Linked DNA regions of Homo sapiens: all the other regions are linked to region 1. The links are contacts of gene promoters, found by promoter capture Hi-C in blood cells and fetal thymus (Javierre and others, 2016). All regions are on one chromosome and are shown on one strand. Each heading gives the region's core, a stretch centred on a gene start or on the middle of the fragment in contact. The rest is flanking DNA. Distances are from core to core; before and after follow the strand shown. Region 1 holds the start of TMPRSS4 (transmembrane serine protease 4). Region 2 overlaps DSCAML1 (DS cell adhesion molecule like 1). Region 3 holds the start of DSCAML1 (DS cell adhesion molecule like 1).

Region 1 (4,449 bases), core at 973-3,472:
AAGGGAGGGCTGAGCCTGGGTGTGGAGATCCCATCCTCCCCTCAGGGCTGGGAGCTATGGCTGTCAAGGGTTATTAAGCACAGGCTTAATGACAGGGTTATTCAGCACAGGCAGTATAATGGCTAGCTCCGGGGCTAGAAACTTCCTTGACCACACCGTGGAGATTGGCCATGCTGCTGCCTTGCCTTTGGGGCCCCAGGCCTGACCTGACCCCTCCACCAGTGTTCCCACCTGCCCTCCCCCGCTCCTCCAGCAATGCCCAGCTCCTTCCCTGGTGGCAAAGGGTCTGTGTTGGGTGTACTACCCAGCTGTCATTTCCTAGCACAGACTCCTCTTTAGTCCTAAGTCCTTACATCTGTGCGGGGCTTCATGGTTTCCAGAACCTACTCACATGTATTAGCTGTGTAATCTCTGCGAACCCGGTGCATGTGCGTGGGGCTGTTGTGGGTCATATCGTTTCCGTGGGCAGGGGAGAAGGTGAGTCTCGGGAAGATGAATGCCTCAAGACAGCACAGCTAATCAGGGAGCTGGCCTCAGCCTTCTGATTCTGCAGTTAGTGACCTGCCCTAGAAATGATTCCCTTCTCTGTTGCTCCCCCAAGAGACACCCCAGGTCTCCTCAGTGCCTGCCACCCAGAAGCAGCTCACAGCTAGGTAGACTCCACAGCTGCTCTCCTCTCCTGGGAGCCCCAGGGGATACAGCGTCTCTGCACACAGGCCAAACTTTGGGGCGCCTCCTTGGATGGGAAAGCAGGAAGCTTGTGCTTTGATCCTGGCTCAAAGGGAAGCCCCTTCCCCTTTCTGATCATCAGCTACAACCGCACTAAGAATTGTTCTTGCCAGAATTTTCAGAAGAGTGTCGTGGGAAGTGCTCAGGTTGGGAATAGGAGACAATCACTCGAGGGGCCCCTGCAGGTCACACCCTTCCCCCTTGGACAGTGGCTTCTCCTTTCCTCTCTTCCCTTCCCTTTCACTTTGGTGGCTGGGCAATTGCTGCCTCTTGGCCAAGGACTGGAGAAGGAAGACCCCTGGGTTCCTCCTCAGACCCAGTTATTATCTCTTCCCCTCCCTGGCCCTCAGCTGTCCTCCTTGAAAGATAGGGTTGATTCTCTTTGCCCCAAGACAGCGAAGACGCTCCAGGTATTCAGAGGAGGAGGAGAGAGGGTGAGGGCATGAAAAGAGACCAAGTAAAAGATGACCACAAACACCCTAGATTGTTTGGAGGCATCTCTGCACTGTTTTCTTTTCCTTCTTTCTTTTTTTTTTTTTTTTTTTTTTTTTTTTTTTGAGACGGAGTTTCACTCTTGTTGCCCAGGTTGGAGTGCAATGGCACAATCTTGGCTCACCACAACCTCCGCCTCCCAAGTTCAAGCGATTCTCCTGCCTCAGCCTCCCAAGTAGCTGGGATTACAGGCACCTGCCACCACGCCTGGCTAATTTTTTGTATTTTTAGTACGGATGGGGTTTCACCATACTGGCCAGGCTGGTCTCAAACTCCTGACCTCGAGAGATCTGTCTGCCTCAGCCTCGCAAAGTGCTGGGACTACAGGCGTGAGCCACTGCACCCAGTCTACACTTTTCTTTAAAAAGAAAAGGAATCAGTTTCCCCAGGGAGTGGCAGAGGGCAACCGTGGCATCAGAACAGCCCCCTGCCTTGGAAAAATAGTGCCAACCTCTAACCAACAGACCTGGAGACATTGGGCAAAAGAACATGCAGGATTCAGGAAAGAATAGTCGGGAAGGACAGCCCTGGCTCTGTGCTCAGCTTCTTAGGTGAGCTGGTCCAAGGACCATGGCAATGGAGGAAGAGAGGAAGGCAGGTGGGTATGAGACGTGTACCGGGCTGGGGTGTGAGGGGATTTGGGTGTGGCCTCTTTTTTTAACCTAGAAGGTGTCACAGAATTCTCAGCTGATGGATGCTCAGGCTGCTTGAAGGGCCTTACATGGGGAGACCCACCCTTCCTGTGTCTTGGGAGCAGAGGGCCCCACACTCACCATGCTGGCTCTGTGATCCTCCCGGTCTCCCTGTAGCCTGGAGCTGAGATTGTCACCCCAAGGCAGCAGGAGGGCCTCCCCACACAGGTCCTGGCTGGCCAGCAGGTCAGAAGTCCCTGGTCAGCACTGGCTGGAGGAGGCCCGAGTGCAGGGCAGGCCTTGGTCCCTCACGCCCAGCATCCTTGTCCGCTGAGCAAGCTGCTGCCTCTCTCTGTGTATTCCAGGAGTGATTGGGGGACTTTGGGCAGCTTGATTAAAACAGCCCTACAAGTGAAGTTGCCAAACTGGAATGATTATGTGTCTTGTAACCTGACACCTATCTTAGGGGCTGGAACAACACCTGAAGTCATTCATGGGACCTTCGGCCTCAGAACAGGTGACACACCTAAGGCGTAACAAAAGCCTTCCCGCCTGAATGACTTCCACCCAACTGGGTGTTGGCTGAGGGTGATGCCAGAAGTTTCCGCCCCCCCTCCCCCTACCTTCTAGGTGCATGACTTCTCACTGTGTGGGTGCTTTGGTTTGGGGTTGTGGGAAGTTGGAGTGGTCTGGGGGTTGGGCGACAGGGTTTGCAGCTCAGTACAAAGAGATCATTGCCAGGTGTGGAGCAATAGGATTGGAAAGTCCACAGAGAAGGAGGGAGTTTCTTCTCTTAGGGAGGTAAGATGTACCCCCTTTCCCTGGATCCCAGAAGTGAAGCTGTCCTGCACAGAGCCAATGTACTAGTGCTTCCTGCCCCTGCCTCAGCAGCCGTTCAATATTCTGAAAATCACTATTGGTGCTCTGGCTAGAGCCCACGTCTCCTCGTCCACGGAGTCATTTCCTTCTTTCTTTCTTTCTTTTTTTCTTTTCTTTTTTTAAGACAGGGTCTCTCTCTGTCCCCCAGGCTGGAGTGCAGGGGCGCAATCTCAGCTCACTGCAACCTCCGCCTCCTAGGTTCAAGCAATTCTCGTGCTCCAGCCTCTCGAGTAGCTGGGACTACAGCCACCTGCCACCACACCCAGCTAAGTTTTGTGTTTTTGTATTTTATTTTATTTTGAGACAGAGTCTCTGTTGCCCAGGCTGGAGTGCAGTGGCGCGATCTTGGCTCACTGCAACCTCCACCTCCCAGGTTCAAGTGATTCTCCTGCCTCAGCCTCCCAAGTAGCTGCTGGGATTACAGGTGTTGTGCGCCACCATGCCTGGCTAATTTGTATTTTTAGTAGAGATGGGGTTTTGCCATGTTGGCCAGGCTGGTCTCAAACACCTGGCTTCAACTGATCCACCTGCCTCAGCCTCCCAAAGTGCTGTGATTATGGCGTGAGCCACCGCACCCAGCCCCACAGGATCATTTCTGATTCACGTTCTGCCACATCCTGATAGCTGGAGCTGCCCCCTGGCCAGGGGATGTGCAAGGTGAAACCTTACAGCCACAGATATTTTGCTGGGAGAGACTTGGATAATTGTCCACATTGTTCCCCCATTCTGTGGGCGACAAAACTAAATTCCAGAGAGGCAAAGTCAATGACCCAAAGTCACATAATGAATTAGTGTCTGGTTCCATATGAATCCAGATCTCCTTCCATTTCTCAGACCTGACCCTCCCAGGAGACCAGCCTGGGTTAGACGTGTGTATTTGTCCTTCTGTTGATAACGTGCTTCTGTGTATCAGCCCTTTAATTCTCCAACAACAACCCCAATATTTTGTTCCCATTTGTCAGCTGAGGAAACTATAGCCTATGGACATGAAGTAGTTTCGGGCAGAGTTGGGGCTGGAACCTGGTTCTCTTACTGGTTCACACTGCCAGGCTTGTGAACAGGCTGAATGGAACACAAGTGTTTGAAAGCCCCAGGTTCATGGTTTGGGATAATATGGCCCATGGAGGACCCCAGTGATGTCTGAGCAGGAGGAATACCGGATCTGTGTAATGGATTATTGGCCAAATCTCAGCTGATGAATGCAGTGTGGCCTTGGACTTGTCTCTGAGCAGCAGAGATCTGAAGCTGGCCTGCAGGGCTCTGGAGCCAGCACAGCCCCAGCCCTTCCTTACTGATGGCTGGTGGCCTTGAGAGTTGGAAGTCTTGGGCAGAGGCAAGAGCCTGTGATCTCAGGTGACCTCAGGGTCAGGGCCGTGATGGTCCAGGCAGGCACCTCCCCAGCAGCAGGGCAGTGAGAAGCCAGTGGGCCACTGGGAGCCACGTTTTCAGTTGTCTTGGTTCCTCTATGTGCCAGGCTAAACATCTGGCCCACAGGTTTGCATTGCTTTACCTGGTGCTCAGGTGATGAACCAGGAAAGAGGCAGCTGTCTGGGCATGAAGGCTGCTGGGCATGGCTGGTTGGAGGGATGATGACTCAGCCCTCCTGGCTTCTGCTCCCATTTGGGTCTGGGAGTTTGTGGAGAGGTCCGGGAAGAAGGCACATAAGCAGGACTGGGCAGGGTGGCTGTGATGCCTGCAGGTGGGGGTGAAGGTTTAC
Region 2 (4,449 bases), core at 1,007-3,506, 300 kb after region 1:
CCCAGTGGCACAGGAGGAGGCTGCGCCGTCATTCTGAGGATATTCGGAGGGGCTTGCAAGAAGTCGTTCACTCAAGAACAGTTTTGTTGTTCTCTTTTGAATCTTTGTTGTACCACTTGCTGTGTGTCCATAGGCATAAGAGACACCTTTCTTTCTCCTTTCTCTCTTTCTTTCTTTCTTTCTTTCTTTCTTTCTTTCTTTCTTTCTTTCTTTCTTTCTTTCTTTCTTTCTTTCTTTCCTTTCTTTCTTTCTCTCTCTCTCTTTCTTTCTCTTTCTTTCTTTCTTTTTTTCTTTTTTTCTTTCTTTCTTTCTCTCTCTCTCTCTCTCTTTCTTTTTGCTTTTTGAGACAGAGCCTCACTCTGTCGCCCAGACTGGAGTGCAGTGGTGAGAAGACACCTTCCTAAGCCTCAGTTTTCCCATCTGCAAAGTGGATGCAAGTACCTACCTCTGTATCACTACGTGTGATGGTTAAATGAGTTGGTGCTCATTTAAATGAGGTGCTCACTTCAGCCCCCTTGACTTATAGAAAACCCGCAGTGAGGTTTCCTTGAAGCCTTTTATTGAAAAATAATATATAAAGGAAAGTGCACACATTACAAGTATGTAGCTTGATGAAATTTTACAAACTTCAACTAACACTGAGATTGAGAAATACAACATCAGCACCTTAGAAGCGTTCCTCAAGCTTCTTTTGTGACACTATTCCCCTAAGAGCCACCACTATTCTGATTTCTAACAATGTAGATATTTTGCTTATTTATGAACTTTATACAAATGGTGTCCAACGGTGTATATTGTCTAGACCTTTTGCTCACCATTCTGCTTATGGGATTTACCCCTGCTGCTGTGTGTGGTGGGAGGTTGGTTGTTCTCACTGCTGCCTAGTGTTCTATCATGCAACTAGACCACACTTTCTTTGTCCATTCTACTGCTGAGGGGATGTCTGAGGATGACATATCTCATGAGAAAAGGCAATTTGGTAAAATTCACGATGAAAGACTTTTAGCAGTGAAGGATTTTGGTCTTTGGAAGAGTAGGTGGAGGCAAGGAGGTAGGGTTTCTCAGGTGGTCTATTTTAAGAAAAAAGAAAGTCTTATTTCTCTGGATTATGTCGGGAGGCCAAGGGGACAGCTAAGATCAGCCATTCTTCACTAGGACACCAGGGTACACTGGTGTCTCACAATCAATGGTAAGGTGGGTCTCGGATCATTATAAAGCACTGACGTTTTGGGAATGGTTTTCAACTTAGAAGAGCTTTTCAACTTAAAGACCCAGCCCACTGCAATGGTGCCAGGCCTAGGTCACACCATCTTTTCCAGGGACTGTGTTGGGCCAACCAGGGAGAGTGGTTCTGGGAAAGGCCTCCCAACCAGCATGTGGTGACAGACCCTCTCTGACTTCTTGGGGTCCTTTTCCCTTAGGTACACCTCTCATAAGAGCAAGGTTTAAAGTAGCTGGGAACGGGAGTGTGTAGGGGTGAGGTGGGGTGAGAGCTGTCCTTCATTCCATTGGTTGGTTTGGGGCTAGACCATGAGCTCTTAGAACACAGAGATATGCTCAGGGTTTCTCCCTGGGCTCCCCATGGACTCTTTTTAGGAGCAAGTGCTTTGCACGGCTCAACCCCTAATGCAGCACCAAGTGCTGGGCTGGGAGCCCTGAGGCCTGGGTTTGGAGCCCAGCTCTGGCCTCCACAGCGTGGAGGATTGGGCTAAGGGGAAGGGACCATGTTTCCTGTCACCTCCCCCTCATTGGGTTAGGATGCAGTTTTCACAGTAAGTCTATACATGTGTTTTCACAAATGAAGAGATTAAAACAAAGAGAGTTAAGTCACTTGCCCAAGGGCACATAGCCAGTTAATCGCAGAGGTGCAGCTATCATGAAAAGTGACATTGCCAAAGTGCTTTCCTTGGGCTGGGCCTTTTATACGCTGCTCTTATGGTGATTTCCTTTCATAAATGAAGAAACTGGGGCTCCAGAAGGTTAACCAACCCTTGTCCAGGATCACACAGTGGGCCAGTGGAGGAGGCAGGGCCCGCTTGTTAGATGCCGTTAGCCATTAACCTCTGCTGACTCCCTGGGACATCACAGGTGGCGTGCACCCCAGCCCGCTCTTTCCACTCCACCACCTTGCCTCCCTCCAGGGTCCATTCCCCTTGTTCTCCTCTGTGCTCTCCCATATCTGGAGGCAGGGCTCTGCCCAAACCTTTGGAAGGGCTGGACCACAGATCCACAGAGCCACCAGTGCCTCTCCTCTCTTCTCTTTCTTCCACCTCAACCACATCTTCTCCTCATCACAGCCACAGCTTGGAGAAGGGGAAAGAATAAAGGCCGAGGGAGGGCCGGGAAGAGCCAGGCTGACTGGAAACACAGTCAATTAAGAGACTCTTGATGATGCCAGAGGGGCTGCAGGTGCACAGTCAGGGGGTGGGGATGGGCTGCCAGGGCCCTAAGTGTCACCCTGGCAACCATGGCAGGGAGAGGAGGAGGGCACGCTGCCCAGGTGCCTGCTGAGGGACAAGGTCGGGAGGCAGCAGGGCTCTGGATGTTCCAGCTTTGCTTGGCAGATAAGGGGGTGGAAGGATCAAGCGAGGCCTGGGAGAGGCCAAACAGAGGAGGACAAGGCAGAGGCAGAAGCCTTGGTCCCATTCCTAGGGCTGGGTCTGCCTGCCTGTAGGGCCAGACACATACAGCGGCTGCAGTTGGCAATGCCCTAGAAGCCAGCTGAGGCAGGAGGTGGGCACGGTGGGGGAAGGGATGGTTCTGAAAGCAGGGGCAAGTCTGGGGGTCAGGGAGGGGTGCTGTAGAGGCTGCAGCCAGGGTCAGAAGCAGGAAGAAAGCAGCAAGAATGCTCTGTTTTGGAGAATCTTGGAGACTGTGTCCATGTCTCTAGGATTCTGTGTGCTCAGAGACAATCGTAGTCCCAAACATTCTCTCCCTTTGTCCTTGTAAGCTCAGGATCTGAACTACATTTCCCAGGCTGCCTTTCATGTTGAAGGAGCCCAAAACTCAATTGTTAGAGCATGTGTCACAGGTTTTGTTTGGGTGCATTATGGTCACTGTGTCCAAAATAATTGCCACCCTGGGTCCAGCAATAATGCAGGAAATCCGGTTTGGTTTTCTTAGGGGAATTCTAGCATATTTCCTTATTACCTGCACATCCCCTTGGTGAATATAACATTGCAGGGCTTAGTGCTGCCCTCAAGGCTTTTACAATCTAATATGACTTGCTAATACCGAAATGGGAAAGGTAGGAATTTGGATGGATGGTCTTGCAGAGGGAGGCCAGATATTTTTGAGGGAGAAAAGGCTGCCCAGTAGGATGGGGAGGAGGTTGATGGAGAAGGAGTTGCCCAGACAAGAACAAGATCATGGCAGGGGCTTCTAGGCTGGCTAAGCAGGATGGGGGAAGGAAGAAGTGGGAAGGTGAGGCTGAAGGAGCAGAGGGAGTTGAGCTGACTCCCTGTTCCTTTCTGGGGACCCTCACCACATCCTTGTGACACTCTTCTCTTCCCCACTGCCAATCTCTCTGCAGTTTTCAGGGAACCCTACACCGTCCGGGTGGAGGATCAAAGGTCAATGCGTGGCAACGTGGCCGTCTTCAAGTGCCTCATCCCCTCTTCAGTGCAGGAATATGTTAGCGTTGTATCTTGGGAGAAAGACACAGTCTCCATCATCCCAGGTAAGAAGCGTCCCGGGGCTGCGGCAGACAGAGGTGCTCCCTCTGTGGGGACTGGATAAAGTAGAGATGCCTGAGCTGGTTGTTGAGCTCAATAAGATCTTGAGGTTGGCTCTGGGGAGTGACTTGTTATTGTTCTGGTGAAGCTTTGGCCAAAAAAAAAAAGTCTTTGGTCTTGGTCTGGCACGTCTCTCTGTGGGGTGTTGAAGACTCACACACTGGTGGTCTTGACTGGGTCTGTGAGGGTCCCATCAGACACCAAGTGCAGTGGAAGCCCCATCCTTTCTGACTGCTGGGGCTTTGCTTGACCCAGCCCTGAGGGACGGGAGGCAAGGCTGGAAGCACCTTACCTGCGAAAGGTGGCAAGGGGAGGAGGAATGAGAGGCGGGTTTGTGGTCTGTGTTCCTGCGTCGTGTGACTAAAACAGTGAGCACTGCCTCCTTGGAGGACCTGACTTCAGGAAGCATGTGTATGGGGACTTTCCTTCTTCCCTTCTTGAATGAGTTGGCTAAAGACTCCATTGGAATTCTAGCTGGCCTCGCATTGAGGCTGATGTTGGGAAATTGGGTTCATACCATGTTGTGGGTTCATCTCATCACAGCTGCCGTGATTGTGAGTCCCTCATTATTGGCTCCTTTTACCTCTCTGGGGTTGTGTCAGCCACAGGAAAACAGGTATAGAAGCCCCAAGAGAGGACCTTGGGTCTTTAAAATACCTCTAGGCCTCCATTTACAAAACTGCGGGATTTTTCCACCACCCATTTCTTCATCTCC
Region 3 (4,449 bases), core at 768-3,267, 280 kb after region 1:
ATGGCTTCCCCACTCTGGGCCTCAGTTTCCTTATCTGTAAAGCAAAAGATCGGTCTGGGTCATCTCAAACACCCCCTGCAGTCTGTCCCCCCGTCTCTGTTCTATGCCTGTGTTTCCAGATGACAAAACACCTCCTGCAAATTGTTTCAGGGTGGTGATTTTGCATGAAGAGCTGAGCCACCGAGGGATGCTGCAGCTTATAGAGCAAGCTCTGCTCTGGAGTCGGGAGGCCTGGGTTCTAGTCTTGCTTCTGATACAACCTTGGTGGCCTTGAACAAGTTAAGCCCCGATTTTCTCACCCGTTTAAAGGACGAACCTTGAAAACATTATGCTGAGTGAAGTAAGCCAAGCACAAAAGGATACATACTTTATGATCTCACTTATGAGGTACCTAGAATAAGCAACTTCATAGAGACAAAGTAGAATAGTGGTTGCCAGGAGCTGGGGGAGGGGAGGGGAAGGGGGAGTTATTATTTAATGGGTGCAGGATTCTGTTTGGGATGATGAAAAAGTTTTGGAAATGGTAAGTGATGATGGTTGCACATCGTGAATGTATTTAATGCCACAGAATAGTACACTTCAAATGGTTGAAATGGTAAATTTTATGTTATGTACATTTTAACATATTAAAAAACACACTTTTCAAAATTTAGTTAAAATTTCTAGGGATATTTTGGCAAAACCTGGGAGTGAGGAGTCCCAATTCTCCCATGTGAACTTAGGCCGCACATTTCGAGGAAGTAAATTTTCTTCCTCTGGCAAATGCAGCTAGCCAGTGGACCCCTTCTCTCCCTCCAAACTTCGCACTCCACACCTTAGAGTCTGCCCAGGTACAGCCCAATTGTCAGGGCATACTCAAAGCAGCTTCCATGACCCTGCAAAGGGAGCTACAGTCCTGGCTCATAGGCCATTCTCAGGGATACCTGGATCCCTTCTCTGGGTTCTATGTATCCTCTTATTTTGGAATTAAGACGAAAGGAGGGCTTTCCAACCATATTGACCTTTTACAGCAGACCTGGCTCAGCCATGCCTGAGTCCCCAGTGCCTGAGCCAGTGCCTGACACAGCAGGTGCTCAACATTCATTTGGTCACTGAGAAGACGCCCTCACTCCAGTCCTATTCTATGCCAACTTCATAAAGATGAGTGTAAGGAATAAGCCAATTTCTGTCAGGCAGGAAAGCTATAGGGGTGGGTAGGTGAAGACAAAGGAGGAAGATAACACAGGTAGCGTAGACATTAAACTGCTCATTGTGAATAACCGTTTAAATAGTCACAATGTGCCAAGTGCTGAGGAAAATTCGAACAGCGTGCCAGGGGGTGGCTGGACTCATCTGGGGTTCTCCGGAGGGCAGGCTTGCGGAAGTCACGAGGGGTTGGAAGGGCAGCTATGAACTTTGGGGTGGGGAGTAGCACCAGACAGCACTGAAAAGCCTGGGATTCTACCCAGAGCGTCCATGCTCCTCCTGGGGAGGGTGGGGGGGCCGGGTAAGCTGAGTCCGAAAGAGGCAGGAAGCTCGTGTCCCAGGTGACTTAGGCCAGTAGAAACCGGGCGTCCTTGGCTGAAGCATGGCAGGCTGTTGGCACATGGATGACACATGCCTGTCTGCGACCACAGGCTCCAAGCCGGTGGGTGACAGGGACCCCTCGCCTCTCAGACAGCGGAGCCGGGTCGGGGCGGTCTGGCCCGGGCCGCCGCTCCTGTTCCTGGGCTTGTGGGGCTGGGGTCCGTCTGGGCTCCGGGCTCGCGCGGCGCTCACCACCCGGGGTGCCGCGGGGGGGCGGGGAGAGCGGCCGCCTAGCCCAGCCCCGCGGATGACAGGAGCCGGGGAGCCGAGGAGGGAGGAGCCGCCGCCGCAGCCGAGCGCTGGGCTGAGGAGCAGAGAGAGCGGGGCGCCGAGTGCGGGCGGCTGGGAGCGCGCTGAGCGGGGGAGAGGCGCTGCCGCACGGCCGGCCACAGGACCACCTCCCCGGAGAATAGGGCCTCTTTATGGCATGTGGCTGGTAACTTTCCTCCTGCTCCTGGACTCTTTACACAAAGGTGAGACCTGCGCGGGCGGCTGGGCGGCGGAGGCGGCGGGGCCAGGGTGGCGCGGCTGGCGGCGAGGCGGGGTGCCCGGCGGGCTCCAGGTGCGTGGGGGAACCGACCGGGGTGCAAGGCCCCGGGTGGGGCGCAGCGGGGAGGGGCAGGCACCCTGACAGGGGCCGAGTGAGAGTCAGCCCCCGACCGCTCCGCCAGCCACCCGCGTCTGCCGTTTTGGGGCGCGCCCGTAGGGGTGGTGGCAAAGGAGCCCCTCATCTCCCTGCTCCCTGCACGGCGGCAGTTCTGCCCTGGACCCCTCCCCCAGCCCCTTGCCCTCTTCCTGCGGCTTGGTGGCACTGGGACCCCGGAGTGCCCTCCGAGTCGAGGGGTCCTCAGGCCGTGACTCTTGACCTAGGAGTCCTTGCTTATTCAGGCCTCGGACTCGGCGGCTGATTCCTCCGCTATGTCCGTGCGTCCCTCTCCCGCCGCGGACCCCAGCCCTGGCGCGAATGTTGGCGCACCGCATGGCGCTTATCCGCGCATTGGCTGGAGGCAGGGTGGGGATAGTGAGAGTCCCGAGAGCTGGAGGTCCCTCGGATAGCAAGTTTGTTCTCCAAACCCAGAGGTCACCCTCCCCCGGCCCTACCCCACCCCTCTGCCCCGGCTTTAGCCCCGGCTTGGTGCGCCACCGTGGCCACCTCGGGCAGCGCGCCCCAAGATGCGAGATTCTCCGCTTCCGCGCCTGGCCAGTTGGACCTGGGGACAAGTCTTCAGGCTGGGGGGCGTGTCCCTCTTCCCGGAGAGAGGGGGTTGCTAGGGGTGGGTCCAGGTGTCCGGCATGTCCAGACCTGCGGCTGGGGCGCTGCGTACCTGATCCGCGAGGCAGCCGGGATCGGGAGGTTGGAAGAGGGCAGACATTTCCGACTGAAGCCACCTGGGCACTGAGTCGGGACCAGGCAGGCGCAGGTAGTCTGGGTTCCAGGCTATCGCAGAGGACGTGCCCCCGGGCGCGCAGATGGCGGGAGATGAGGCGGCCGAACTCCGCGCCCTTGCGTGGTGGAGCACACACGCTCCAACAAGCTCAGCGTCACCTGTTCAGCCCTCTAACTTTTCTCCTTCTCGCCCCGGGGCGGCTTCTCTCTCCCTTTGCCCTGGCTGTTGCCCTGGCCGGGCGGCAACTCTTAACCCCAAGACGATGAGGAAGGGCACTCCAGTGGAGGGTTGCCACCCGGGGAGGGGTCCAACCCTGCCCTGCCGGTGCTCCAGGGGTCTGGAGTCTGCAGCCTGCCGGAGCCCACTGCGATACATCGTGGGTTGGGGGAAAGAGGATAACCCTTATTTGTAGATACTGCCGGGTCAAAGCCAGACTCAAGGCCCAGATACTGCTGGCATTTACTAGGCGATCGGATTGCGGGACAAGGAAGGGTGGCCTCAAAAATCGTCGACAAAGTAGTTGAGTTTCTCAGGCCCAGTGGGGTCCCCCGGGTTACACACCAAGGCTGGTCTCTGCTGTTTAACCCCTTGCCCCCCGCATCGCACTCCTTCATCCTACCTTAGCAGAGCAAGAAGCCTGCCTCCTGTTCAAGCCCCACCCCCGAACCCCAGTCTCCCTCTCCCCAGGTTCTTCCTGCCTCCCTCCGCCCCCGCAGGCTGGCTCGGCTCGCAGCTTTAATTACATTAATATTAAAAATACATAAGGTGAGGAGCGGCTTTCTCTCTCGATAGTTCTCTCTCCAACCCCCATCCCCTTTCGCAATTTGTCAGGCGAGAAAGCACAGGCCGAAGCCGCTGCCACACTCTAGCCCGGCTTTGTCCCCAACTCCCCCATGCCTCCACAACACTCTCTGGAGACATCTTCCAGGACAGCCCATTCCCGGGGAGTGCAGGAGGCCCCTCAGCAAATACCTGAAGGACACTCCCCTCCCCCTTCCAGGAGCCTGGCATTAATAAATGAAGCCGAGCTATTTGATAGGGCGGGAGCAGATGGGGTTGGGGGTGGAGAAAGGCCCAGAAGGCAACAGGACAGCCAAGGGGCAAAATCTTGTCCAACTCGAGATGGAAGTTGCCAGTGGCCTTGGACCTGTAGGCGGGCTGGAGATGCCAGTTGTGGCGGCTCCTCGGTGGCCTTTGGGTCTGCAGAGCCCGGTGCCCCTGCGATTCAGAGGCTCCAGCGTCTGTCTGTTGGGCGCCAGGGTGCCTCGCCAGACAGGCTTTTCTTTTCCTTGGTGCCTTAATTGGGTCTTAGGTGCCAGGCTGGTCCCTGGGGCCTGTTCTGCTTGGGGTGGCGTGGTAGGGGGTGGCAGAGGCGGCTTGGGGGAAGATGTGATGCGGAGACAGCAAGAAAGATGGGGTTTGGAGTATTTTCTCTCCCGTTGCCAGTCACCCCCGCGGCACCAAGGAAAATGTAAATGTGAATGTTCGAGCCTGT

Evidence for each region. Contacts are between HindIII fragments. The CHiCAGO score rates a contact against its expected background, and 5 or more counts as called.
Region 2: a fragment that was not itself captured here is called in contact with the fragment with the promoter of TMPRSS4 in region 1 in 6 of 17 cell types (activated CD4 T cells, endothelial precursors, naive CD4 T cells and 3 more); the score reaches 6.7 in activated CD4 T cells.
Region 3: a contact is called between a fragment that was not itself captured here and the fragment with the promoter of TMPRSS4 in region 1, in 10 of 17 cell types (activated CD4 T cells, naive CD4 T cells, neutrophils and 7 more). The highest score is 7.8, in activated CD4 T cells.

Annotation. Positions count from the first base shown.
Region 1 is chr11:118,074,851-118,079,299 of GRCh38, reverse strand. TMPRSS4 (transmembrane serine protease 4) reads right to left here and starts at 2,222. Exons shown (of 13, transcript NM_019894.4): 1 at 1,995-2,222. The coding sequence starts at 1,997. The region is part of intron 1 of SMIM35 (small integral membrane protein 35); the gene reads left to right. RefSeq lists an enhancer at 1,772-2,367. The HindIII fragment of the contact is 4,332 bases long and covers 760-4,449 here.
Region 2 is chr11:117,776,021-117,780,469 of GRCh38, reverse strand. DSCAML1 (DS cell adhesion molecule like 1) reads left to right here. Exons shown (of 33, transcript NM_020693.4): 3 at 3,533-3,679. Among named protein-coding and RNA genes, the nearest start is that of DSCAML1, 19 kb to the left of the region's middle. The HindIII fragment of the contact is 3,137 bases long and covers 688-3,824 here.
Region 3 is chr11:117,794,624-117,799,072 of GRCh38, reverse strand. It overlaps DSCAML1 (DS cell adhesion molecule like 1), which reads left to right and starts at 1,857. Exons shown (of 33, transcript NM_020693.4): 1 at 1,857-2,039. The coding sequence starts at 1,994. The HindIII fragment of the contact is 5,146 bases long and covers 1-4,449 here.